Linked DNA regions of Homo sapiens: regions 2, 3, 4, 5, 6 and 7 are each linked to region 1. Evidence: promoter capture Hi-C in 16 types of primary human blood cells and fetal thymus (Javierre and others, 2016). All regions are on one chromosome and are shown on one strand. The core of a region is centred on a gene start or on the middle of the fragment in contact, and the rest is flanking DNA. Distances in the headings are between cores, read along the strand shown. Region 1 holds the start of MCPH1 (microcephalin 1). Region 2 holds the start of LINC00529 (long intergenic non-protein coding RNA 529). Region 3 overlaps TNKS (tankyrase). Region 4 has its middle 2.7 kb from the start of XKR6. Region 5 overlaps XKR6 (XK related 6). Region 6 overlaps CLN8 (CLN8 transmembrane ER and ERGIC protein). Region 7 holds the start of TNKS (tankyrase).

Evidence for each region. The method cuts DNA at HindIII sites, captures the fragments that hold promoters and counts their contacts. A CHiCAGO score of 5 or more calls a contact.
Region 2: a contact is called between a fragment that was not itself captured here and the fragment with the promoter of MCPH1 in region 1, in 1 of 17 cell types (naive CD8 T cells). The highest score is 5.1, in naive CD8 T cells.
Region 3: a contact is called between a fragment that was not itself captured here and the fragment with the promoter of MCPH1 in region 1, in 1 of 17 cell types (naive CD8 T cells). The highest score is 5.2, in naive CD8 T cells.
Region 4: a contact is called between a fragment that was not itself captured here and the fragment with the promoter of MCPH1 in region 1, in 1 of 17 cell types (non-activated CD4 T cells). The highest score is 5.4, in non-activated CD4 T cells.
Region 5: a fragment that was not itself captured here is called in contact with the fragment with the promoter of MCPH1 in region 1 in 1 of 17 cell types (total CD4 T cells); the score reaches 6.1 in total CD4 T cells.
Region 6: a contact is called between a fragment that was not itself captured here and the fragment with the promoter of MCPH1 in region 1, in 1 of 17 cell types (naive CD8 T cells). The highest score is 7.6, in naive CD8 T cells.
Region 7: the fragment with the promoter of TNKS here is called in contact with the fragment with the promoter of MCPH1 in region 1 in 1 of 17 cell types (naive CD8 T cells); the score reaches 7.4 in naive CD8 T cells.

Annotation. Positions count from the first base shown.
Region 1 is chr8:6,403,832-6,407,876 of GRCh38, forward strand. It overlaps MCPH1 (microcephalin 1), which reads left to right and starts at 2,796. Exons shown (of 14, transcript NM_024596.5): 1 at 2,796-2,858. The coding sequence starts at 2,837. It overlaps MCPH1-DT (MCPH1 divergent transcript), which reads right to left and starts at 2,717. Exons shown (of 2, transcript NR_040040.1): 1 at 1,875-2,717; 2 at 1-1,289. RefSeq lists silencers at 2,538-2,617, 2,878-3,057. The HindIII fragment of the contact is 9,682 bases long and covers 1-4,045 here.
Region 2 is chr8:11,280,621-11,284,371 of GRCh38, forward strand. It overlaps LINC00529 (long intergenic non-protein coding RNA 529), which reads right to left and starts at 3,411. Exons shown (of 5, transcript NR_170283.1): 1 at 3,231-3,411; 2 at 669-801. RefSeq lists a silencer at 333-382 and enhancers at 3,165-3,254, 3,345-3,404, 3,680-3,751. The HindIII fragment of the contact is 2,523 bases long and covers 1,171-3,693 here.
Region 3 is chr8:9,576,862-9,581,108 of GRCh38, forward strand. TNKS (tankyrase) reads left to right here. Exons shown (of 27, transcript NM_003747.3): 2 at 3,298-3,522. Among named protein-coding and RNA genes, the nearest start is that of TNKS, 23 kb to the left of the region's middle. RefSeq lists an enhancer at 613-732. The HindIII fragment of the contact is 2,105 bases long and covers 277-2,381 here.
Region 4 is chr8:11,202,641-11,206,330 of GRCh38, forward strand. No RefSeq gene overlaps it. Among named protein-coding and RNA genes, the nearest start is that of XKR6, 2.7 kb to the left of the region's middle. The HindIII fragment of the contact is 527 bases long and covers 2,062-2,588 here.
Region 5 is chr8:11,019,611-11,023,512 of GRCh38, forward strand. The region is part of intron 1 of XKR6 (XK related 6); the gene reads right to left. Among named protein-coding and RNA genes, the nearest start is that of MIR598, 14 kb to the right of the region's middle. The HindIII fragment of the contact is 1,460 bases long and covers 1,679-3,138 here.
Region 6 is chr8:1,764,849-1,768,627 of GRCh38, forward strand. All of the region lies in intron 1 of CLN8 (CLN8 transmembrane ER and ERGIC protein), which reads left to right. Among named protein-coding and RNA genes, the nearest start is that of CLN8-AS1, 2.2 kb to the left of the region's middle. The HindIII fragment of the contact is 1,260 bases long and covers 1,348-2,607 here.
Region 7 is chr8:9,554,094-9,558,128 of GRCh38, forward strand. TNKS (tankyrase) reads left to right here and starts at 1,819. Exons shown (of 27, transcript NM_003747.3): 1 at 1,819-2,519. The coding sequence starts at 1,847. RefSeq lists enhancers at 1,502-2,163, 2,164-2,823 and a silencer at 1,922-2,081. The HindIII fragment of the contact is 11,121 bases long and covers 1-4,035 here.

The sequences.
Region 1 (4,045 bases), core at 1,546-4,045:
AACAAATGAAAAAATCACCATTTACGATATTATCAAAAAACACAAGACCTTGCACAGTGGCTCATGCCTGTAATCCCTACACTTTGGGAAGCTGAGGTGGGAGGATTGCTTGAGCCCAGGAGTTCAAGACCAGCCTGGGCAACATAGTGGGACTCCGCCTCTACAAAGAATTTAAAAAATGAATTGGGCATGGTCATGTGTACTTGTAGTCCCAGCTACTCAGGAGGTTGAGGTGGGAGGATAGCTTGATCCCAGGAGGGTCGAGGCTTCAAGATGAGCCATGATCACACCATTGCACTTCAGCCTGGGAGACAGAGTGAGATCCTGTCTCAAAAAAAAAAAAAAAAAAAAAAGAAGAAAAAAAGAAAAACAAAATAAAAAAACAAATACTTAGGTTAAAATCTAACAACAGTTATATTTTTTTTTTTTGAGATGGAGTCTCGCTCTGTTGCCCCAGGTGGAGTGCAGTGGCAAGATCTCTGCTCACTGCAAGCTCTGTCTCCCGGGTTCATGCCATTCTCCTGCCTCAGCCTTCCAAGTAGCTGGGGCTACAGGCGCATGCCACCACGCCCGGCTAATTTTTTGTATTTTTAGTAGAGATGGGGTTTCACTGTGTTAGCCAGGATGGTCTCAATCTCCTGACCTTGTGATCGGCCCGCCTTGGCCTCCCAAAGTGGCAGGCGTGAGCCACTGCGTCTGGCCAGAGAAATTTTAAAAGACCTAAATGTTAATGGGTCAGAAGATTCAATATGGTTAAAATGTCAATTCTCCCCAAATTCATCTGTAGAGTCAACACAATCTCAATCAAAATCCCAGCAGTATTTTTTTGTGCAAAATGAGAAGTCGACTCTAAGATTTAAAAGGAAATCTGAAGAATCTAGAAGATACAAAATAACCTTGAAAAATAAAGTTGTAGGACATAAACTATCTGATTTCATCACTTATTTATATAGCTACAATAATCAAAACAGCATGGTGCTGGCAGCAAAAAGACAAATAGCTCAATGGAACACAATAGGAAGCCTAAAATGAAACACATACATATGCAACACAGATTTTGATGTAAGCACAAAGGAAATGCAGTAGAGACAAAAATAACTTTTTAATAAATGATGCTGGAACATTTGGATATGTATACATGCAAAAAAATGAACTTTGGTCCCTATCCCATACCGTATACAAAAATTAATTAAAAGCAGATCTTATCCTTTGAGTCCAGTAGGTTGAGGCTGCAGTGAGCTGTGATTACACCACTGCATTCCAGCCTGGGCAACGGAGTGAGAAACTGCCTGGAGAAAAAAAAAAAAAAAAGTAGAACCTAGACCTGATATACAACCTAAAGCAGTAATATTTCTAGAAGAAATCCTAGGAGAAAATATTTGTGATCGTGGAGATGAAGAATCTATCAAATACTAAACTTTTTTTACCACCTTGACCAAAAGTAATTGGTTTATATACTTCATCATATCATTTAATTCAAAATCTACAGAGATCAATGTCACTTTCTCAGTAAAAGTACGTGAGTCTTCAATGATGCCCTGAACTCACACTCCCAAGTAAACCATAACACCATATTTCCAGAGTAGAGTTTATTAGAACAATAACTGGTGATAATGATAAATATTGATCAAAGACTGAGCCTAGGAAGTGGGTTTTTTGAGGCTGCATATACTCAAGGCAATTCTTCAGAACCACAGAGGGCTCATTGGATCCTATTAAAAGCTGAGAGTGAATGAATAAACAGATAAAACAGAGACCTGAGTAGACGGTAGTCGATATTCTTTTACATGTATTCTACCTCTAGATTCCATAGAAAGAACTAAAAGTACATGAATTTCACTACCAACATCTCCATCAGTTACCAGCTGTATCACCTTGGATCAGTCAGGTAACCTCCCGCGAATCTGGTTGCTTCCGGGGCAGGGGATCCGCGGGCTGCAGGTTTGAGCCTGGTTGCCGGCAGGGTGGAGCAGCTGGAGGGCCAAGCCTTTGAGCTCCAGGGGGGGTGGCCGGGACAGTGGGTAGTGCCAGCCGATCGGCGTCCTGGGGATTGCCTGAATGTGAGGTCTGGGTTCACCCCGCGGTGACCTGAGTCCTGGGATGCCCCTACAGGGATTTGCTGCCTCAGGGATCCGAAGTCTCTTTCATTCCCTTACTGGGGATTTGAGGTCTGGAGGTACTCCTGCGGGGGTCTGAGATCTCGGGGTCACCCTGTGGGGGTCTGAAGCCTCGGGGTCCCCGCGTGGGGTCTGAGGTATCAGAGTCCCCTCCGTTGGGTCTGAGGTCTCGGGGTCCCCCATCCCCGGGATCGGAGGTCCGGCTCCCCGGAGCAGGCAGGGCGGTGCGTCTGGCCCTGAACAGTAACGTGGCGCGCCAGCCCCAGGTGGTGTCGGGCTAGGGGGGCATAACGGTGCCGAAAGTCCGCACAAAGCCGTCCGCTGGGGTCCCGCCGCGTCCGCGAGGGAATGACTGTGCCCCCTCCCCTTCCTGATCCTCAGCTCAGGTGAGCCCAGATGAGGCGCCGGGTAGCTTCTAAGTCACTAATGGAAATAGAAGGCTAATTCAGGGGTTAGGGGCCGTCGTCCTCCTTACTCCCAGGAGAAGAGAAAAACCCACGGCCCAGCAGCCAGAGGCGCGGCGAGGCGGAATCGGGCCCCCTCCCCGGGGGCTCAGCTCCCTCCAGCCTCCCGCCTCACCTACAGAGAAATCCCGGAAACGCGGATTCAGCGGAGCGCGGTGACGGCGGCGCGCTCACCCCGCGCATGCCCAGTGCCCGCGCGCGCCGCCAGGCTCGCAAGCACCGCGTAGGCCAGCTGGCCGGATCCCGCCGTCTGTCATGGCGGCCCCCATCCTGAAAGGTGAGGTACTTCCTGCTGCCTGCTCCAGCAGCGGGAGTTTGAGGACCGGCACCCCTCGTCGCGGGCGCACTCGGGGGATCCCGTGGGAGGAGCCCCGCTCGCCCCTCCCTCGCTGCCTGTCTCCCCCAGACCCCCTGCCGCCTCCTTCCTCCCCCGCTGCCTGTCCCACCAAAACCCCCTGCTCCTGCTCTCTCCCCCGCTGCCTGTCCCCCCAAAACCCCCGGCTGCCTGCTTCGTCTCCCGTGCTCCCTGTCCCCCCAAACCCCCGACTGCCTGCTTCCTCCCCCGTACTGCTTGTGCCCCAACCCCCGTGCTGCTAGTTCCCCTCAATCCCCCGCTGCCTGCTCCCTCCCCCATGCTGCCTGTCCCCCAAATCCCGCCTTTCCCCCTACCTGCTTTCACCCCTGCTGCCTTAGTCCCTGGATCTGGGGCTCACTGGCAGGCAGAGTCCTGCCCTCCGGAAGTTGGTGTGGGGCCCTCCTGGGTCTGGTCCTGTTCGACCCCCTCTGAGGCCCACCTGGAGGAGCGGCAGTTGAGTTTCTATGCTAATTGTTCCAATAATAGGAGCCGCCTTTTACTGCGGAGTCTTTGTGTGCCAGGCGCTGTGCTTAGGCTAGTATGGTATTGTCTGATTTTTTTAACCGCTCTATCAACTCTCTTATATCATTTTACAGGCAGAAACTAAGGCATCGGACGTTTAGGTGACTCTCCCTGTGTGTGGCTAGTCAGTGCTGACAGGGCCTTAGACCGGAGCTGCTGTCCTAACCAGTATATGATACCGCACGCAGTCCCACCCTCTGTGCACCTGGAAGAGCCCAGGAGAGGGGAATAGCGGACACGTGTCTTGTAGAGTTTGACCGTGAGAAAAAAGGGGCCTGTATTGTGGGGCCTGGAGTCATAAAACCTCATAGCCAAAAGTAAAGACTAGAGGCTTTATACAAAGTCTGTAATCAGATGTGGCTATTTTTCTAATGTTAGTATTTTGTTAAATTAACCTGGTTTTCTTTTAGCGTTACCCCCAATCATTGACCAACGGCACACCTGGAAAATGCTTTTAAACATCAGGTTTTGAGAAGAGGATATCCACTAGAACAGGGGTCCACTCACTATGCCCCCCAGGCCATATCTAGCCTGCTGCCTGTTTTTGTAAGGGTCTACGAGCTAAGAATGTCTTTTACATTTTTAAG
Region 2 (3,751 bases), core at 1,182-3,681, 4.9 Mb after region 1:
TTCAAGCAATTCTCCTGCTTCAGCCTCCCCAATAGCTGGGATTACAGGCCCACACCACACCTGGCTAATTTTTGTAATTTTAGTAGAGATAGGGTTTCACCATGTCGGTTGGCCAGGCTAGTCTGGAACTCCTAACCTTGTGATCCACCCTCCTCAGCCTCCCAAAGTGGTGGGATTACAGGTGTGAGCCATCGTGCAGCATGGGGTTTAAATAGCCTCTAGAGGTTTCCCATTGGTTACTTGGTTACACCCTATGTAAATGAAGGAGTGGCCCGTCACAAGTCTGACTGATCATGGGAGGTGACCAATCAGAGTCTGAAGTGACGGTAGTTACAAAGTTACACATGAAGACTTGGCCTGCAACCAGTCTGAATGGTTGTGGGAGGGGACCAATCAGAGGTACTTTCCATTTTTCATTTGCAGTGCAGTGCAAAGGGAGTAGCCTCTGATCCTTTCGTTACATTCGTGTGAAGAGGTGGGGTTTCCCCTCTGATTCAGTTCTAGGAAGTCAGTGAGAATTGGCCTTAGGTTCCCTGCCTCTAGACCCTATTCTCCTGTCTCATTTTCCCGCTGTGAGACATGATCCCCATAAATCTTTATGGGAGGCAGAGGGACCAATGGTCTTTCTTCTGTAACTGCTTCATGCTGACTTGGGGTGCGGTGCCTACCTATTTGGGATCACAGAACTCTCACTCTGCTCTGTCTAGTGGATACAGGGTAGCTTCTTGATGGCCAGTAGTGGTGTCTTCACCTGAACTGGCTGGAAACCTTGTTGCATGATCATCTGAAGCTTGATGGTCTCTAGGCGAGAGGAAATTAATTTGGTTAATGTATTTAATAAATATGGTCCAAAAACCAAGGCAAGTATAATTAACAACGAGCCAGTCAGAGGAAGGACTCATGAACCCCTAATTAGCATTTTTGAACAGGAGGACCACGACTTGGACAGCTGTTGTCGTATCTTAGAAGCCTGGTCAGCTAATTTCTGGGTGGCATCCCTTACTAATTCTAATTGGTTGACATAAAAACAGCATTCTTCCTCTAGAAAAAGACATAAGCCACCTTTTCCAGCAGTTAGGAGATCCAGTCCCCTTCTATTTTGTAAAGCAACTGCTGCCAAGGAGTCTGTTTGAGTTTGTGTTGTGACGATACTTTGGGCAATGTCATCCAAGCTTTCCACAAAATCCTTGGAAAGTGCTGGTAACAGTATAGGGAAGTTGCAAGCCCGGTAACTCCCGTTCCTGCTCTCACTGTTATTCCTAGCCCAACAAAAAGGCGTTTGAGTTGGATTGCTCATTTGTGTCTGGCGGTTGCAGTTAAAGGTATAATGAGGGATTGGTTGTTGAGAGCTCTCCCTCTCTCTCTCTAAATATATATATATATATACACATATATATATAGTTTGTTTGTTTTGAGACAGTCTCCCTCTGTCACCCAGGCTGGAGCACAGTGGCTCAGTCTTGGCTCACTGCAACCTCTGTCTCCAGGGTTCAAGTGATTCTCCTGTCTCAGTCTCCAGAGTAGCTGGGATTACAGGTGTGCGCCACCATACCCGGCTAATTTTTTGTATTTTTAGTAGAAACAGGGTTTCAGCATGTTGGCCAGGCTGGTCTCGAACTCCTGACCTCAGGTGATCCGCCTGCCTCGGCCTCCCAAAGTGCTGGGATTATAGGCGTGAGAAACTGCGCCCGGCCGGGAGCTATATTGATTTCGGAGGCTAAAAACCAAGTGTACAGGTTCCAGTCCAATTGGCTGGTAAACACAGTAGGAACTGGTGCTGCACAGGGAAAAGGTTCCTTGTTTTTCAAGACAAAAATTGTTTTCCATGGTGAACATGTGGGTTAGCTTGTTGTTTTCACTTTCCCAAGTGGTTAAGTTTCCTACTAAAGTGGCCAAGCGAAAATGTCAACCCAGCTAGTGGGCCCACCTTCACAGTACTTAGACTGTGCATCCTTTAAAGTGCCCTTAACTAGGGATGGTTTCCATGAAAAGCATACAGGTTTTCTAAACGATGCAGTTTGGTTAATTGCATAGCTTACATGATTGTGTGAGGGTTAATTTCTGGGGTGTGGTTGCATTGAAGACTTCAAGTTCCCACGACCTGAACAGAATTTTGGCTTCTTTCAATACAAAGTGGCATCTGGAATTTTAGCTCTGTGTATGTTGATGTTGGGCCCCTAATGGGTTTCTGTGGGAATGCACCCTCAAAAAGGTTGCTCTGATTGGACTGGAGAGGGTTTACTGCTCATCCTGTCATTTTAACCTTTGTCATTTCCATACTTTTGAAGTCTTATAAGTCATCCAGATTCATTAATTCAAAGGGAGTTCCTCCCTGGTAGTTGGAATGATAGGTCATTTTTTTCAAGGACCCAAGATCGGGCTGGGATAGGGATGGCAGTGTATCTGGATGAAGATAGGAGATAAACAAAGCCAACAGTCCTTTGCCAGAGCTGAGCTGGTGGTATTTAACAGTCTTTGCATTAAATTTAAAGTTCTTAATAAATACCCAGAATCTATTAATTGCCAGAGGGGTAAAGTGAAGCTCTGTTGTAAAATAAAGCTGATTCCCTGTATGCGGTGTCCCTGTGTATACTGGGTGTATACTGGGTGTCCATTATGGAACAAAAAAAAAATACTTATTTGCTATTTTGTTCTATAGAATGGGAACTTCAGGGGGTGGATACCTGTGCTGTCAGGAATGCTAGTTATAAAAATGAATTAAAACACTTCATATATTACAAAGGAAGTGATTCCATCTATTTGGACGAAAGCAATTAAACTGCAAAAATATAAAAAATGGCAACTATTATTCAGTCTACAGTAACTATGCAACAAAGACACCAAGGAAAGTTGGTAGGCATTTACGTATCTCACTTAAAACAAGTCTATAAAGTGGTTTATTTTAAGAAGGGTACATTTTAAGAAGGACAAAATCAAAAGCATGGACAAGTGTTGGATGAGCTGATGAGGTTGTGGCAATTTACTTTGTGAATACTGTGAGAGTTTGTCCAACTCGCTGTGCTTAGGTACTAGATGGTGAGGATTTAAAAGGTCAATGAAGTCACAGCAGACCAGCACTCAAACATATTTCTCTTCTATTTCCTACTTTTGAATAAAAATGTCAGAAGTGGGCGGTGGGAAAGGAACAAGCAAAGGAGTAATTATTTGAATAAATTTTTGGCGAAACGTGGGTGTCTGACGGGGAGGCTGTGCGGTGGTGACCAACGCACCCATGCGCTGGGTTTCACAGATGCAGACTGAAGTCCAGGCTCTGCTGCAGATTAACGGGGTGGCCGCCAGCAAGTCAAGTGACTTGCTCTTCTGTGCACTGCATGTACTTGGGTTCCTCTCACAGGTATTCCTGTTTTTCCTCTTTCTTGCTCCAGGTTACACCTCGTGGCGCGGCGCTCTCGGAGAGCCTGTGGAGTGGCCCTGTGTCCCTCCCTGACCCCTGGAGGATTCCGTAAGGTCACAGTCACCGCCTCCATCCCCTACTTGCCATGTCTTCAGGGCTAATGCATAACAATTATCACAATTTACAGCAGCCCCACGCTCTGAAGAGCTTCTGGAGGGGATACTACTCAAGCGGAGGAAGGCAAGACAGGGACCTCCTCCCTCTTCCCGGACCTCTTCTGATAAGGAATATTTGTAGGTGGTTAAGAAAGGCAGCGGGAGGGCGTGAAGGCAAAGACAAGCTTTTTTTCTCGTAGGAACACACATCTTCTGGTCTGGCTGTGTTTCCGGAGGCATT
Region 3 (4,247 bases), core at 79-2,578, 3.2 Mb after region 1:
ATGAAATGCATAATATACAAATAATAACATGAAATGTATAAAATATAAATATAGAAACACAAGTGTTTAAAAAACACACATTGAAAAGTATATAATTTGCATGATATAACAAACATTGAATTTATGTAATAGTACCTCTGGGGAAGCAAAGAGGGGACTAGGATTGAGGGTAAGAGTTCAACTGTATTCATATATTTAGTTTTCAACAGTAAAAAAGCAAATATCTGAACTGAAAAATGTAAATAACAATTCATTTTTTTTTTTGCCTCTTTGTAAAGCTTTTAAATGTGCACGGAATGGTCACGAGGATTTTGGTTGAAAATGAAAATTGGTAGAGGGCAACTTGGCAACATGTGAAATTTTAAATGTATACCTATTGATCTAGTACTACTACTTTGAGGCATTTATCTTAAATGAATAGGACAAATGTACAAGGAAATTTATTTTGACTTTTTTTTTTAGTAATGGTAAAAATGTTTTTATAATGGCTGTGTTAGTCCGTTCTTGCATTGCTATAAAGAACTACCTGAGCCTGGGTAATTTATAAAGAAAAGAGATTTAACTGACTCACAGTTTTGTAGACTGTACAGGAAGCATGGCTGGGGAGGCCCCAGGAAATTCACAGTCGTGACGGGAGGTGAAGGGGAAGCAGGCATGTCTTATATGGTCAGGGAAGGAGGCAGAGGAGAGCAGGAGGAGGTGCTACACACTTTTAAACAACCAGATCTTGTGAGAACTCACTATTACGAGAACAGCAAGAGGGAAATCTGCCTCCATGATCCACTCACCTACCACCAGGCCCCTCTTCTAACACTGGGGATCATAATTTGACATGAGATTTGGGTGGGGCCACAAATCCAAACCAAATTTTTTGGTCCCTGGCTCCTCCCAAATCTCATATCCTTCTCATATTTCAAAATACAATCATGCCTTCCCGATAGTCCCCAATAGTCTCAACTCATTCCAGCATTAACTCAAAAGTCCAGAGTTCAAAGCAAAGCAAGTCCCTTCTGCCTGTAAAATCAAAGCCAGTTAGTTAGTTACAAGATACAGTGGGCGTACAGGCATTGGCTAAATACTCACATTCCAAAAGGGAGAAATCAACCAAAACAAAGGGCCTGCAGGCTCCATGGACTTCGAAACCCAGCAGGGCAGTTGTTCAATCTTAAAGTTCCAAAATAATCTCCCTTGACTCCACGGCTCACATCCAGGCCACACCAACACAAGGGGTGGGCTCCCAAGGCCTTGGGCGGCTCCACCCCTGTGGCTTTGCAGGAGTCAGCTCCCATGGCTGCTCTCAAGGGCTGGTGCTGATTAGGGAAATGGAAGTTTGCACTCAGGCTTTATTCAGATCCGTAGAGAAGGAGAATAATTCAACCTTCCTGGGTCAGGACAGCACTTATGGCCCAGTGGAAGAGTAGGGCATTGATGGTAGAGGGAAGGAAGTCGAAGTTAGAGAATTAAAGAAAACCTAACATCCGTAAAGTTCTGCAGGTATTTAAAAAACAAAACCAGGAACCCTGGTAAGATGCTGACAGTTTACTTGAGCATGTACCCTATGCTTTTACTGATTCAGTTACTAATACAAAATTGATCTTTTCACCTAAAATTATCAGCTTAATTTTTAAGGATATTTTCTACGGAAACCTCATTCTGACTTTGTAATACATATCTGTGGAAATGTATGCTTTACTTTGGAGACTTTTTCTTAGAGCCTGCTTTTCTGGAATGAATGAATTTCTATAGATAGCATGGAAGACATATCTTGAGATAAATTTCTTTTTTCCCCTTACTCTTTTCCACATGGTTTTTATTTGTTTAACATATGCCCAAAATAAAGGAAGATGTGACTCTTTTACTGTCTTTTATTTTTATTTAAGATGCCATTTTGTAACAGTATTACACAATAATAGTAGAGGTAGTGATACCTAGTTAATAAGACCTAATACAATTTAAAGTGGGAAAGAATCATTAATTAAGATTCTAGCTTGTGAATATAAAAATGCGAATATTTGCGGTTTCCTTTTATAACCCATTGCAATTTAGTTTGTAATTTTACCACTATACTAAAATTAGTTTAATATTACCAATGGCCATTGTTTTCTTCTCCGTTGATCTCATTAAATCCTCATGGTACTGGACTTTGCATAATGTTGTTGTTCCTTGACTTCCACGATGTTGATGTTGTGCTTTCTTAGTATTTCTTACCTTTCTAAGTGTTTGCCTCATCCTTAGACTACTTGAGACTCTTTCTGACTCCCCCTAAACCCCCATTTTTGTCTGAAAACTGTGATACTTCTTATAAAATTCTGGTTTTATATTCCCAAGTGCTTGTATTCCCACTCATTTGCCATATCGTTTCCTCAAACTAAGTGAATCCAAGCTTGAATTGTTCCAGTTCACCACCCATTTCATATAGTTTGGCCACTAGCCCCAAGAATAGATATTTTGGCATCATCTTTAGTTCTTCCTTTTCAAAATTCCCTTTGACCAAGCGTTCACCATGTGTTTCTCATACCCATACATTCATCCCCAATTTCCCTAATACAATGCTGTGTGTTGTGATTTGTCTTAGATTCGGTTATCAGCAGTATTTATTTATTTATTTTTATTTTATTTTATTTTATTGAGGAGTCTCGCACTATTGCCCAGGCTGGAATGCAGTGGCGTGGTCTCGGCTCACTGCCATCTCTGCCTCCCAGGTTCAAGCGATTCTCGTGCCTCAGCCTCCCAAGTAGGTGGGATTACAGGTGCCTGCCATCACGCCTGGCTAATTTTTGTGGTTTTATTAGAGACGGGGTATCACCATGTTGGCCAGGCTGGTCTTGAACTCCTGACCTCAGGTGACCCGCCCACCTCGGCCTCACACAGTGCTGTGAGGGTGTGAGCCACTGCGCCCGGCTTATCAGCAGTATTTAAATAACCCTTGTTTCTATGAATGTAGTGATGAGTTTCTATATACAGTTTTGTGTTGTGAAGCCTGAGGGGAAAGTGAGTTCCTGGATAAGTCTTGTCATATTTATTTTGTGTTTCTAGCACTGTTGCACAGCACATATTAAGTGTTTAGAAAATGTTTTTTGAATGAACAGCCCAAAGACTAAAGGAAGAGCTTCCTTAGTTCTAAATTCTGTGAAATGAGTCAGTTTGAATGAAGCTAATGTTTCTTTTGTTTTACACCATTTACTATAGAGTGCAGTACTTCAGTTGTTCATACTTGTTGATATTGTTACAGATATTCTAATGGTTCTTTTTACAAAATCAAATATATATACAAGACATTTTTTCGTTTCTTTTTAGGTTTTGGAAGGAAGGATGTTGTAGAACACTTACTACAGATGGGTGCTAATGTCCACGCTCGTGATGATGGAGGTCTCATCCCGCTTCATAATGCCTGTTCTTTTGGCCATGCTGAGGTTGTGAGTCTGTTATTGTGCCAAGGAGCTGATCCAAATGCCAGGGATAACTGGAACTATACACCTCTGCATGAAGCTGCTATTAAAGGGAAGATCGATGTGTGCATTGGTAAGTATCATTTGATGATATCTAAATTTTAAATAAAGGTTTATTCTTACTTTTTTTGTGGTACAAATAGTGTTTCCTGAGAATAGGTAAGGAAGGGTTTATTGCTTCTTGTAGAAGCAGTTCTTTTCCATCAAAAGGTAAACAGAGAGATGGTAATCTAAAGTTACTTAGGGGAAGACTCACAACATTAACTTTCCAAATGCAGTCAAATGCCTATTGATGTGGAACTCAATTTTAATGGATTACTATTGTCAAATTTAGTTAATTTATAGTCTCTTTTAAAGACTGGACATTTTCTATCCTACCATCAATGAGAGCCATTATAAAGTACAAATTCTACTGAGTTGGATGACATTTGAACACTTGAGGTTGATTCAAGGAAACTCATCTAGTATAGTAGTCCCCCCGCTTATATGGGGTTTTGAGTGTTTTGAATACAGTAGTTCAGAACTTAATCGTTTCAATATGTGCCATAGTCTAGAGAAAAAGCAATTTCAAACAAATTGGACTTTTCAATCATTTTAGGTATCTAGATGAAACGAAGCTGTATTCAATCAGCATTTTGTTCTCTCATATATATTCACATTTTGCTTTGCTGTATACAATTTTTTATTTTGAAATCTAAAAAGCTTCTAGAGGGCAAGTATAATTTCTCTTGAGTGTATCATCTGTTTTTTGATACTTGAGATGATGGATGTTTGTTTAGCCATGGCAGGTTGATTTAC
Region 4 (3,690 bases), core at 1,075-3,574, 4.8 Mb after region 1:
TAGCCAAAATAGGGCAAGCTACATGGTTACAGTTGTTCCTGATCAGATGAAATGAACATTTTACAGTTAAAAAAAAGAATGAGGGGGAAAAAAATCCCTGAATTTTCTCATTGACTTCCCTAGATTTTTGAACTCATTTTTGTGATTCTGTCTACTTCTCCATTCACTAAAGTCTTCTAATAATGCCAATAACTGTCTTTAGAATGTTAAGAGTACAAATTAGGTAATATTTATATGGCTGGAGGTTCTATGGCAGAAAGGTGCGTTTGACAACTTCAATAGTTACTTTGATACTATTGAATACTATGGCACCTATGAGTTTTGGGAGTGGCAGGGTAGATGGGGATACTACATTTTAGGACACAGCTTTTCATGAGTATATATGCCAGTGTGAAATCTCTGAAGACTTTAGAAAAATTACTAATAGTGAATTTTTACTCCCATACATTGGGAAGAGGGGAGTGATTCCAAAATCAACTTTTAGAAACCAGCCATATAACTGTATCCATGTATTTCATGCTATGATTTAAGCCTCATACTCCCTATGGTATGTAAAACTCATACTCATATGTAAGCCTCATACTCCCTATGGTAGTAAAACTTAAGGCCAGCAGGTAAAGATTATTTCTGCATATAGATGGGATTCTGTTTCTTTGCTGAATTTGAATGAATAACACCTTACATGGCATAAATATAGAGTAGGATTGCCCAGGTATGAACCCCAATTTCACTAAAATAGTAACATGAATAATGTGAGCAAGATTACCTCTTCAAATCTCAGTTTTCACCTTGATATAATAGAAATAACAACAGTGACTTTTCTGAAAAGTTGCTGGGCAGAGTAAAGGTGGTAATCCTTTCAAGGATCTCAATATGATACCTGATAGGCAGCTAAGCACTAGAGAGTAACTGCTATTATTATTACTGTTGTTATTATTATGTTTGCATAATACTGACATGTTTCTACTTAAATTCTATCGCTGAGTGTATTTGGTATCTCTAATAAAAGAAAGCATTTTGAAATACTTCTAGAAAATAGGTGCAATTAATTTGTGCTTTCAAATATATTTTCTCTATTTAAGCTACGAGGCTGTGAAATGAGATACAAAAGCGGGCAGTAATGGTGTATTTATGATTCCTATTTCTGTGTGCCCTGAAAGAACATAAACTAGTGAAATTAGCTAAGTAAATTACACTCGCTATATAAGGCTGACAAATGAGCTTATGAGTCAAAAGTGTTTATTACAATTGAAGTTTCAAGTAGATATGTAAGATTCTCAGACTGTCAAGTGACTTCAACTTTACATTTGCTGTTTCAACAATTTTGTCCTTCTACTTTCTTTGGAAGAAGGATACATTATGGAACCCAGAAGGCTCTAAAATCAGTTACAATGATAATAAACCTCTCATGAAGACTCACTGAAAAGTTAACATAAATCTGGACTGTGCTTTGGATGGCACACTTTTACCTAGAATTTTGGGGGTGATTTTTGTTCCAAGTAAGCCAGCACTTAGCACAATGCTGAACACATAGTGGGCACTCTATAAGTATTGATTAAATTAGTGCAAATTAATTTTCCAGATAACTGAAATTTCACCTTTAAGTGCCAAAAAAAATGTATTTTACGTTTTATGATGTAAACCTCCATAAAATTCAATCATTACGGAGATACCTCAAAACTTTAAAGTGGGGGGAAAGTGAAAGAAATGCATTGCCCATTGGCTTGTGCTCTGCACATCAGGCAGAAAGTTGACCTTTTCTTGACAACTTGACCTTGAAGTGGCCTTATGCTAAGAGGCTCTAACTATTTATGTGCCTGTGCCGGCCTGCTAAGCACCAACTGTTGTTGAGGTTGGTGGTGGTGGTGGTAGCAGTGGTGGTTTTTTCTAACAGTATTTTTTAATCTCTGCTTTCTTTGTTTATTCAGTTAATTAACAACTTTGGCCCCTGTATTTACACTTTAATATAGACAGAGAAGCCAAATAACAAAGCATGTTGGAGTTACATGTAAAATAATACTAAATAGATTTTTAGAGCCTCTTCTATGAGTAAAGTTAAAAAGCTTTAACATACAGAAATTGTGACATAAATTTTAAATGTTTAGAAGCCCTTTGGGGTTTTTCTTCCCAATTCTCTATTTTCAGAAAGGCACAAAGGAAAGTTAGTGTTGAATGCTATTATGTACTAAACAGTCTCCCATACGTGACTCCTTTTAATTATATGGCAGTCCAAAAACGCATGAGGATTAGTATTCCCATTTTAATGGTCTAGAAAACAGACTCGAGTCTGCCAAATGAGTTACCCAGAGTCACATGGGTAAGGGGAGCCATAGATTAGAATCCAGGCAGGTGTAATTCCAAAGCCTGCTACTTACCCTGCCATTGTCCTGGGCCAGGCAGCTACTGGCACTTCCAAATGAAATTAGTGTTACTGTGTTAGTCAGAGTAGGGACCCTATTACAATGCTGGTATGCAGCTAGGAAACAGAACACCTCAATTCCAATATGGGGATAGGCCTCAGCAAAAGCATTACAAAGAGGCTGTCTTATACATTTTTCGTAAGATTTTCCTAGTTTGAGCCTACATAAAGCTTCAAAAGAGTAGGTGGATGTCATCCTCATCAATTCTGTGCCTTGTATCTTATTGACTTCTATAGAAACAGGACTTCTTTGAGTGCTGAGGAGTAAGCTCATAGAACCCATTATCCCTGGAAGCTACATTTCTGTATTCGATGTTAAGAATTGAAGTGTTAGCAAGCACTCTCATACTTTGTTGCTGGTGGTACAAAATGGTAAAATCTTTATGAAAGGGAATTTGGCACTACTTACCAAAATTTCAAATGCAGGTACCCTTTGAGACAGCCATCCCTTTTATGGGACTTTATCTTACAGATAAATACATAGATGTCAGAAAGTATGTGTGTACAAGTTTATTCATGTAGCATTGCTTACAATTGAGAGAAAGAATGGAAGGAAAAAACCCACATGTCCACCCAAAGGGGAACTAGTTAAATAAATTATGGTACATCCACACAACAGAATATGGTGCAGTGATGTTGAAAAATGATAGTTTTCTTTTTAATGATATACAAAGAGTTGCAGGATGCTTTGTTACACAAAACTCAAAGTGCAAAACAATAGAACATGCTGCATTTTCTGTAAGAAAGGGGAAGAGATAAGGTTATCTTTTCTTATTTGTTTGTATTTGCATAAAGCAACTCTGGAAAGAGACCTAAGAAACAAAGTGATTACCTGTAGGGTGGTGGTAATGGTGGAGAGAAATGCTGTGAGTAGGAACAAGGATGGGAGAAAGATAATAAATGTTTGGGGGGAAGTTTGGGGAGGTCGCAGGGAATATGCACCCATATGTAGTGTCACAGAGATCGGTAAGAATCGGCGGGGGTAGGTACATCTGTATTCTCTAACAGCAACATCACTGAGGAGTATTTTGTGAAGTTTTTTGTCTCTTAAAAACTAGTTATAACTCCGACATCTGTGAATTGATTTAAACCCTTCTTGAGCTTCTTTATATTTTTATCCACTGTATTGTCTAAGTAAGGATAAAAAGCTTCATGTATTTACTCCCCAAAGAGCAGAGTACAGTGTAACTTTATCATACGTACACTTACCGTGTGTGGAGTCAACTAATCATGCCCAACCAAAAGAAAATAAGGATCGCCAGGTGCAGTGG
Region 5 (3,902 bases), core at 1,159-3,658, 4.6 Mb after region 1:
GTTTCCACCTAGAGGTGGTGTGAGCAGTGTGGCAGCTGGCTCTGACCGCCAAGACATGGTGAGCTGAGGCTGCAGGGCCGTAACCCTGGCAGGCCCCAGCCACACCTGCAGACACAGCCCTCAGAGGCAGAGGCTAACACGGTTAATTGGTTCCAACCTTCAGCTAAAAGTAGGAGCATTGATCAGGCACCCGTGAGGCTCAGAAGCTGTGGCCTCTGAGGATGCTGTACTTCCGTGTAAGCTCAAACCCAGAAAAGAGAAATCCGATCAGAGGTTGTGGTGCTCACTTCCCAGCCGGGCCAGAGTGGGGCAGAGAGGCGGCAGGCTATAAATAGTGGAGGAACCGCCACTGATAATCCACTGGAGAGAAGGGATAGGGCACTCTTCCCCCAGGAAGGAATGGCAGGCCTCTCCAAGGAACAGCGGGACCTGTCAGAGCAGAGGACAGGAGATGGTGGCCTCATCCCCACCCACCCAAGGCCCAGTCCCCTTTCCCTGTCTGTGAAGTGCTTGCTTCTGCCCTGACTCCGTGGAGCATGGGGACTTACAGGGCAGGCATAGGATGAGGGGACTTCAAATAATGGTCTTGGGAGTTGAGTTCAGGCTCTCAGTGGAGCCAGGGCTTGGCCAGAGTTCATATGATTTCAGTGTAGGAAGCCGACACCGTCTGTGCATCCCGACACGGAAGCACAAGTCCACTCTCCTGTCACTCAGCCATCCCTCCAGAAATGCATCCATCCATCCATCCATCCAAATATCTAGTCATTCAGTAATTCATTTGACAAATAAGAATTGAGTCCCAATGATGTGGCAAGCCCTGTGCTAAGTTCCTTGTGACCTCACCTGTAAACGGTGCTGCTTCTCCCCGTCCTTCTTAGGGTGCTTGTAAGAACCCATCGAGGAAAGAAATGTGCTTGCAGCCTGGGAAGTATCACACATGTATCGGTGAGTTGGGGCTTTGACAGAGAGAAGCCTTTGGGTGCTTCCAAGAAGGGAACACCCCAGCCCCTAAGAGCTTCCTTTCCCTCCTTTGGTCCTCAAAATCTCAGCCAAGGAGGCCTTGATTGGCATTCATGGGCTATGGCTTTTCAGGTCAACTTTGAACTCTTACGCCTTTTTCCTAATATGAGGGTCTAGAATGTAAATTTTGAGATCCTTACTGAAGTATGCTTCCCCCTAAACTTGCTGTGTGCACTTGGGCAGGCCAGGTGACCTCTCTGTGCAACAGTTTCATCCACTGTAAAATGGCAGTGACATGAGTAACTATCTCTTAGGGCTGTTGTGATGATCAGAGAGTCAGTATATGTGAATTGCTTAGCATAGTGGCTGGCACAGAGTAGGTACTATCTAAGGGTGAGCTACTTGTGGAGATGATGCAATCTGGCCCTGGGAAATGGGGGTTCAGGCTCACCTTTTACAAAGGGACCCTAGGGGGTCCTATGAGGCAAATGCTTCTGGCTTTAAGATACGTCAAGCCTTAGTCTCCTCAGATTTTAAACCATCTCCATAAAACAGCTGTCCTAGGAAGGAATCTTGGGCTTCTCTCAGAGTCTCAGACCAGAAACTCTGTGTCCTAAGACACTGCAGCCTCTTACAGGAAGGCACTGCAGGTCTCACAGGGAGAGGAAGAGTTATACAGAACCCTGTCTTCCCTCTTCCTACACTCATGTGGGTAAAAAGCTTAGATTTTTCTTGCACTTGGAGTAGAACAAGGGGTACAGCTAAAGTGATGGACTGCTGAGAGTTTCTAGCTGCTGCTGGATTCCATAAGTTCCATCGGATTAAGGATGAGCTTAATGTATAATGTATAAACCCATGGACAGAGACACTGCCTTGTTTAAGCAATGGTTTACATTCATAACACAAATATAAATGGATAGTCATTTCTTTCTTCAGGGCCCAGCACAATTCATTAGTAGCTTCTAGCCTTTTGTCCCTTTCAAGCAGAAAACAGACCCAGCTCAGAGAGCAGTGGCTGGGTCTGCTCAGGACCCAGGAGCCCAAAGCACACAGGATCCCAAACGCTCCAGAGTCCATAGAGACTTTGTTGTCAAGCACATCAGAGATCATGACTGCTATATATTCTTGGTGCTTCTTTTCATCCATTCAGAGTCTCAAATGTTCTCTCTTCACTTTCCTGCTTCATTCAACTATGCTAAGACTGACAGCCTCCTGAGATACTAACGTGATAAGACACAATCCCTGCCCTCAAGGAACTTTAGGGTAAGCCTGTCTCCCTGACCTTGGCTTCCTGAACTTAGCCTTGTTCCATATAAACCTTTTTCCTCCTTCCTACTTTCCTCCCACCATCATTGCTGGCTGGTACCAGCTGCTTACTTTGTGTTTCTAGTTGCATTTCCTTAGCCTCTGTCTCCAGCTGAGCACTGGACTGCACACTGCAGAAAACAAAGGGGAAGAAACAAAGGCACTGGCCTGAAGGAGTTCATGGCCCACTGGGGAGCTTTTTCAGAAATATAACCAAAGAAGCCCCTGCCCTGGAGAGCTTTCAGTCCACAGACAGTGCATCCTAGATAGAAAGGGGCCCTCTCTTAAAGAGGTCCAACCCTTCTCATTCATGTAACTATGGCACAAAACAGTAGGTGCCAGTAGCACAAACAGTTCAGAGAAAGATGCTGCAGAGTGCTGTTGCCTTAGCATCCCTGGGAAAGGTGCATGGGCTGTAACCAAGCCCCATTGTTCCACCTGGGTGATCATGGCCATTGCTAGGGGAGAGCAGATTTACATGTGGACACAGGTACTTATGCTCTACCTGCAGCGACCCAAAACTCTCTTGCTGTTCAAACATGTCCAAGCAGTCCCCCTGGGTCCAAGGCAGAGGGCCCACTCCAAGTGGGAGACCACAAAATGACCTTATACAAACACCAGAAATTAGGTCTTAGACACATGAATGGGACAAAGACTAAGTGTCAAAATCCCAAACTCAGTCAGCAGCCAATGGGTGAAGCGGGCGGCAGGAGCAGAGGAGAATGCATGCGCTTCCTCCAGTGTCATCTTTTTCCATCCCTACGACCCACAGAAGGGTGACATTATTCCCCTTTTACAGATGCAAACACTGAGGCCCAGAGAGGTTATCTTGCGCAAGGCCCTGCAATTAGTAAGTGGTAGAACCAAGACCCAAGCTTTTTATTTTTAAAGCTGGGTCTTTTCAACTATACCATTCAGACTACAAAAGCAGAGAAATATTTTCCACTTTTTTATTTGTTATAAATATTTCATTGATCAACATTTAGTTCCTCAGGCACCTGTGTAAGGTCCTCCACGTCCCAGGGCAGGAGGCCCGGGGCTCTAACTCAAGGCCGTGACCCACAGACACACAGGAAAGGCAGTCCCCTCCCTCCCTTCCTGGCCACAGCAGGGCTGGTGCTGCGGTGTCAGCGCTCCAAGGTATCTGTCGAGGCAATTTCAGCTCCAGTTTGCTCAAACTCCAGACCAAAGGCTCAGTCGCAGACTCTGATGTGCCGAACAAAACCAGAGACAGGAACTCGTCTCAATCACTGAGTCAGCTGGCGGTGAGAAAATGGGCAGGTGGAAAGCTGGGGAGGGCCCTCCCTCCATGTCCCCATTTCCTAGACTGAGCTGGCCCTGCATTTTCTGCACCCAGGGCTGCTCCCAGAGCAGGCACTAGAACCCTCTGCAGATCCCAGACCCTGTTCTGCCCTGGAAGCAGTGAGGCACCTCACAGGCCCCCGAAGTCATCTGAGGCTGGTGGCTGGAGTGCAGTGGCATGATCACAGCAAGAAATCCTCTAACCTCAGCCTTCTGAGTAGCTGGAACTCTAGGCAGTGCCACCACACCCGACTAATTTTATTTTTTGTAGAGATGGGGTCTGGCTGCATTGCCCAGGCTGGTCTCAAACTCCTGGGCTCAAGGGATCCTCCTTC
Region 6 (3,779 bases), core at 728-3,227, 4.6 Mb before region 1:
CTGCTTCTGACTCCTGTTTCAGTTTACCCTCTGTGTGAAATCTGTAACTATCCAGCTTCTGCTTACCTCACTCCCGTATTTTGATTTTTATTTACATACAACTTTTCAGGAAGGTTGTGAGAGGAAAGAGCAATGGTGCAGGAAGTGTGAGTGATTGAGGGAATATGAGATGGCCACAGCTCCCCACTGAGCTTGAACACTTCTGTGCCTCACTTTCAGATTGGCCGTCATGGAGGCTGTGGTTGTTAAGGAAGTTCTTCCTGAGCATCCAGTTTCCATACAAAGAGCACAGGTTCTCTAGGTGGCCTCAGAGATGTTCAATACACAATGTCTTCTGATAACGAGGAACTGGGCAAAAGCCTGGTAGGACACCGGGTAGGTAAATGGTGGAGTCCCTGCAACCGTGTTGCAGAGGAGGATTAGCTGTTGCTGAGAGAAGAGAAGCAGGCCGGGGAGCAGCTTGTATACTGTTATCCCCTTTTATGTAAAAAGAAGAGTTTATATCTAGAAAAACAATTGACCCAGCAGGCACCAAAAAATAGTGATGGTGCTTGGAGCTGTGTAAGAGGATTGTAAATTTTTATTTTTGTATTTTTATGCTTGTTTATATTTTCTGAATTTTGTGTATTAAACATGTATTTCTGTTGATTTTGGAAAACATTTTTACAACCCATCAATGTATAATTTTCAAAATGTTAGAAGTATAATTCTCATGTAAATAGCTCTTGTCAGGTTATATTTCAGTCATTAATGCAGTATACAGCAGGATAGGAATGTCAGTTCAAAAGAGAATACACAAAACTAGGATTTTCTTAGTGAGTGGGTAACAGGAATGCTGAGAGAAGATTGCCAGATTAGATAATAAGATTGGTGAATATCCTGTGTGCATTGAAACCACAGCCTTTGGGATTGTCTTTTCTTCTTGATGGAAAGGAGAATTAGCTTTGCAGATTGTAAAATGCGTGACCCACAATCAGTGGTAAATAGTTTAGTTATTTCTCCTAGAAAGTCAAGTGATTGTTGGGGTTGTAAAACACTGAACTTGCGTTAGCAGGGAAAAAAGCATGCAACCTTTTTTTTCCCTTTTGACGTCACTTCCAAGTTTGGATAAATTATCTCAATGAAAAACAAAAATGCTGGTATCCATAGCAGTTTAGCCCCCATAAACCGGAGGAGCGCATAGATGCATGACAGAGTCGAAGGGTTCCAGTGGCCACTGAGCCTGGTTCCTGGTCACACTGCAGCAACAGAGCTAACACTCTTACTGATGTGTTTGCATTCAGATTTTTAAAAAACTTCATGGCCCAGTGCAATAGAAGAGCTGAAACCACAGAATCTTATAAGACAAGCTTTTTGTATACATTTTCTCCAAAGAAAATGAAGATCTGCAGCGTCAAGAGATGGTGGCCTTCCAGGAGTTGTTTATTCTCCGGCTCCACTTCCTCTACTGCAGAGAGGAAAGGGGCTGGTGTGGAAGGGCTTGGAAGCCTTCCAGAATGAAAGAACCAGATGAGTCCATTAGGTTCGGCCTCCAGTTTTTTGTTTTTTTTTTTTTTTTTGAGACGGAGCCTCACTCTGTCACCCAGGCTGGAGTGCAGTGGCGCTATCTCAGCTCACTGCACGTTCCGCCTTCCAGGTTCCCGCCATTCTCCTGCCTCAGCCTCCCGAGTAGCTGGGACTACAGGCGCTCGCCATCACGCCTGGCTATTTTTTTTTTGTATTTTAGTAGAGACAAGGTTTCACCATGTTAGCCAGGATGGTCTCGATCTCCTGACCTCGTGATCCTCCCACCTTGGGCTCCCAAAGTGCTGGGATTACAGGTGTGAGCCACCCTGCCCGGCCGATTCGGCCTCCAGTTTTACCCATGGAAGGAACAGTGACTTCCAGCTGTGCATTACACTTAAGGACTCCTTCATGTGGCCTGAGCCTTATGGTGCACAGCAAGGGAACAGTGGGAACCCCTGTGTCCCATTTTGCGTATCAAGAGTGAGAGGGTGTGGTTGGGTCAAGGAGCAGAAATAGAAGCAAAAGGAGAAGCTGAGCTCTTCCCATACCCCTTCTGTGCTGCCTGACAGAACAAGGCCTAGCCACACTTCTGTGGGTGCCCACCTTGTGACTTGGGGTGAACCACAGCTGTTCTCAGTACAACGCTGATGCCACGAAAGGACAGCAGAGCTCTGCAGGACTCCAGGAAGACTGGGCGCTTGGGCTGGATCCTGCCTCTGGGACTGGCCTTCTACCCTCATGGCTGAGAGAGCTGAGGAGTTCACCTCCTTTGTGAACTCCTGGCTGGAGGATGCTGGTTGGCATTAACTAAACTCAGAGACCCACAGTAACGAGTTAGACTAGAACAGCACCAGCTTACCCAGAAAGTCAGGAGGTTTGAGCAAAGAATCAGAATGGGGGATTCACTACAGGACTGGAAGGGGAAGTAAGCATTCTGGTCTTTATAATCTGCTGTTTCTGCATCCCTAATTGGCACCTGTTCTCTGACTGCCAGGAGGGTTTGCCCACTCAGCTGTGGCTTACCTGTTTCTGTTTCCATGTCTTTCACCTATCTGCCACTTTTCTGTAGATATGGTAATCTCTCCAAAAAGATATCTAGAAAGCTTGAAGACCTGGTAGCTATTTGCTCTTATGGTGAAGATCACACAAACTAGTTGAACATCTGGCTTGTAGTAGGTGCTTCATTTCCCGCTGCTCTGTATGTTTCTTTCTTTTTTTTTTTTTTTTTTTTTTTTGAGACGGGGTCTCATCTTGTCACCCAGGCTGGAGTGCAGTGGCGCAATCTCAGCTCACTGCCACCTCCACCTCCCGGGTTCAAGCGATTCTCCTGCCTCAGCCTCCCAAGTAGCTGGGATCACAGGCATGTACCACCACGCCCAGCTAATTTTTTGTATCTCTAATAGAGTCGAGGTTTGACCATGTTGGCCAGGCTGGTCTCGAACTTCTGACCTTGTGATGCACCTGCCTTGGCATCCCAAAGTGCTGGGATTACAGGCGTGCGCCACTGCACTCGGCCTGCTCTGTGTATTTCTTTTTCCTGTAGTCAGATTCTGGGGTCCAGGGTGGTTAGGAAAGAAACTTGTTTTCTTTCTTTCTTTTTTTTTTTGAGATGGAGTTTTGCTCTGTTGCCCAGGTTGAAGTGCAGTTGTGTGATCTCGGCTCACTGCAACCTCCACCCTCCTGGGTTCCAGAAATTCTCCTGCCTCAGCCTCCTGAGTAGCTCAAATTACAGGTGCGCACCACCACGCCTGGCTGATTTTTGTATTTTTAGTAGAGGCAGGGTTTTGCCGTGTTGGCCAGGTTGGTCTTGAACTCCTGACCTCAAGTGATTCACCCACCTTGGCTTCCCAAAGTGCTGGGATTACAGGTGTGAGCCACCACACCCAGCCTGAAACTTGGTTTCTTAGCTCCTAAATAGTGAAATCAAGATCAGAGCCCACTAAGCCAGCCGCTCTTCTTGGTTTTTGGTTCTCATGTCCTGGAGTCCCTCTCACCTTGACCAAACCAAAGACCTCCTGAAGCATCACTTGGGCTCACCACTTCCACTGAGGTGGATTTGAGTCATTGATCTGGGCAGAGCCTTCTGGAGTCGGGGTTTCTCTCGTCTCAAGGCAGAGGTCCTACAGAAGTTAGTGGTCTTGGCCAAGCGGACATTGATGCAACTGTGGCAAAATGGGACCTATAAGTCAGAGCTGATGACCTACTCGTGGAAAAGTACAGGGAGAAGTTTTACGAGGGGTCCATATTTTAACCTTTAACAGTGTTGTTCACGT
Region 7 (4,035 bases), core at 569-3,068, 3.1 Mb after region 1:
TACATCAAGAAGTTAAGATTAAAAAACAGAAGCATGAAGAAGAATGTTGTGGACTGATTTTAGTTGCACTGATGTGAGTTTTCCTATCCAGCTACACTTTTTGTCCGGTGTCTACTGCGAACAATGGCACATTTCATCACACAGCTGGATAATGTTAAGAATTATAATCTGTAACCCCAGATTAGATGAAAATAAATGCCACTCGTAATACTAATTATGTTCCTGACCTTATTGTATTTACTTACTAACCCCAAATAAACTCATCTATTTACTTAAATGGGAATATTAACATCACATAAATCATATTTAACAATGAACACATGAAACAATTTATCACCTAGTTTAATATTCTGCTTGACTCATCTAAATCTTGTTTCTCTTACAGAATTTCCATCTGTGTCCACTCTATTGGAATAATGCTGTTTCTGTATACTTCTACAATGCCTGCTTTACTATTGAACAGTAGGTATGAAATGGAGTCCTCAATGGGATTATCTCATTCATGGATACATCTTTTGATAGTAGAAAAACAAAAGTATACATAGGTTGGGGGAAAGACAGAAAAAGCAGTTGCTGAAAAATAGCACCTGATGGTGAGTAATGGACAGCAATCAGGTTTTTGTTATGTTTTCTTGTTGTTTTTGTGACAGGGTCTCCGCCCTCTGTCACCCAGGCTGGAGTGCAGTGGTGTGACCTCGGCTCACAGCAACCTCTGCCTCCCGGGCTCAAGTGATCCTCCCAACAGACTCCTGAGTAGCTGGGACTACACGCATGTGCCACTTTGCCCAGCTAATCTGTGTATTTTTTGTAGAGATGGAGCTTCGCCGTGATGGCCAGGCTGATCTTGAACTCCCGGGCTCAAGTGGCCCGCCGGCCTCGGCCTCCCAAAGTGCTAGGATTACAGGCATGAGCCACCGTGACCAGCCTAGCAATCAGGTTTTTATCTGTTTCGGGTGTGGGAGAGGCTAAGCTAAGCCAGAATTCAAAAGAAAGGAATATATTCATAATTAGTTACACTTAGGGTGAAAAATAAAATTTCAGAGAGAGCAGAATAGGAAAAAAAAATCATAATTTTAATAATTCACACTTATTGCACTATTGTTATTTCAATTTTACAGAGAAAAACAGGCATAGAGTGATGAAATAGCAAGTACATATATAAACAACAAATGGCAGAGCTGGAACGCCAATCCTAGCAATCTGAACCAGCATTTAAAAACGAGGAATTAAAGCACATAGGGTGAGAAAAATTATAGGGAAGGGACAAGAGCTCAAGGGGACACCTGGAAAAGAAATACTATAATTTAAAAAATTACCAACGGGCTAATTATACTTGTGTTTTACTGGCAGAGCGCTTTGTCTGTTAGCTCTTTTAATCCCGCTAATAATTCTGTGAGGTTGGTACTATAAGTTCCATTTTTCAGACAAGGACGCTTAATAGATGATAACGGACACATTCCCTGCTTGCTCTGATCTGCATCTCAACAGCTGGCTCTGGAGCAAGCAAAGGGAGACTAAGGGAAACAGAGCGGAGCAGGGCAAAGAAAGCCGACTGAAAGTGAGAAATGCAGGAAATGTTTCCCATCTAGGCAGAAGCTGGTTCCAGCATTCAAATCTCTCCAGCCGGCCCGCCACCACGTCACAAAGCCCGCCTCTCAGTGACAAAGCCCCGCCCCGTTCCCTTGGCTGTTCTCTGAGCTCCCAATACTTCCCTCCTTCTCTTTGGCCCCTGCTACCCCGCCTAGCATCATTTCCTGTGCGCTGGATGCTGATTGGTCCGACAGTCGGAAGTGAGGGCGGGCGGTGGGGGCCGTTGCCGCAGTGACAGTGCTAGGGGAGTCCGAAGATGGCGGCGTCGCGTCGCTCTCAGCATCATCACCACCATCATCAACAACAGCTCCAGCCCGCCCCAGGGGCTTCAGCGCCGCCGCCGCCACCTCCTCCCCCACTCAGCCCTGGCCTGGCCCCGGGGACCACCCCAGCCTCTCCCACGGCCAGCGGCCTGGCCCCCTTCGCCTCCCCGCGGCACGGCCTAGCGCTGCCGGAGGGGGATGGCAGTCGGGATCCGCCCGACAGGCCCCGATCCCCGGACCCGGTTGACGGTACCAGCTGTTGCAGTACCACCAGCACAATCTGTACCGTCGCCGCCGCTCCCGTGGTCCCAGCGGTTTCTACTTCATCTGCCGCTGGGGTCGCTCCCAACCCAGCCGGCAGTGGCAGTAACAATTCACCGTCGTCCTCTTCTTCCCCGACTTCTTCCTCATCTTCCTCTCCATCCTCCCCTGGATCGAGCTTGGCGGAGAGCCCCGAGGCGGCCGGAGTTAGCAGCACAGCACCACTGGGGCCTGGGGCAGCAGGACCTGGGACAGGGGTCCCAGCAGTGAGCGGGGCCCTACGGGAACTGCTGGAGGCCTGTCGCAATGGGGACGTGTCCCGGGTAAAGAGGCTGGTGGACGCGGCAAACGTAAATGCAAAGGACATGGCCGGCCGGAAGTCTTCTCCCCTGCACTTCGCTGCAGGTCAGAGACTTTTGAATTGTTTATTAAGGGTTATGGGTTTGGGTGCAGGGTCCGGTTAGGACAAGAAAACAGGTTATTGTGATGGGACAAAGTGGGGGCGTGGTTATGGTTCTTCATCACCTCACCAGAAGACTGGAGGTTCCTTTCTTTTGGTGGTGCCTGGGTGATGGGGGCGTGGTTGGGGGGGATAAGTGAATCCAAGGAATTCTTCAGTGGTTGCACAGTACTCATTACAAAACTCACTGTAGTTGGTAGTCTCTGCATATGGATATATTTACACTTTAGTTTTTGGTGTGCAGGAATACAGTTAGATTTGGACAGCTTTAGAGTAGTTTTGTCGTTTGTGTGCTAGTTTATTTTGTTTTTACAAGGGTATGTCCTTTGAGGACAGTCCAGACCAAAAGAGGTTTAATACAACCCAACACATGTTTGAGGATCTATTGTAGCCTTAATAACCCAATGAAAGACATAAATGAAGTGTTTGAAAGTTTCCCTTCTTCTAAAGAAGTTTGCAGTCTAGACGGGGAGACCAAAATATGCCAATGTGAAACAACTGGAGAAGAATATTTGGATGCATTATATGATGATGGAAGAAATATAGGCTTTGATGTTGTGGCCACTATTATTTGTTGTCTAGCAGACCATTTACCTCGTGTCAGTTGCCTCAGTTTTCTCATGGGCAAAAATCATAAAATGATGTTGTGCGAGCATTTGGTGAGAAGTATCTGGCACAAAGTTCTCCCTCAAAAAGTGTGAATTTCTTAAGCTCTGGACCCCACACTTGTCTTTTTTTTTTTTTTTGCAAGTAGTTGATGATTTTCTCTCAAAGACACCTAATAATATGTTTATAAAATAAAGAGAACTGTAAAATAAAAACAAAGGACCATAATCTCACTGCCTGGATACCTATTGTTGATATTTTAAAAATGTAGGTAATAATGTTTTATACATTAGAAACATTATATTGGAAATACATATATTGTACGTTATACAATTCAAATAGGACAGAAAAATACAAAATGAAAGGCATCACACAGAAACATCAGAGATAACACACCAGAGATAACTTCTGTTAAGTTTCTCCTATATTTCTAATATATATATATATCACTTCTTCAGTTTGTTCTGTTAACAGTAAAACATGTGTTGACCCACTGTAGTATTTATTTTTACCACACTTGGGAGATATGATTAACCATTTTACAGATGACAAAAGTGAAGCATATATCGATCGCTTAAATAAGTCCAAATTCAGTCAGGAAATAGTGGAAATTGAGTTTGAATTCAGGCAGTTTGATTTTAGAGCTTGTGAAATCAAACTTAAACTGTCAGAACCCTGGATTAAGGTCACTTTTCATTTTTGTGAGTAATTGAAGTGTAGAGTTCCCAATTTTTGGGAGAAGTAGTAATGCGGAGGGGCTTATATGCAAGAGAGTAGCTTTCACATGTTTTTTATTGTAGCCCATACTTAGAAATACATTTTACATTGTCACATACGCAACTGAATCAAAAGTTT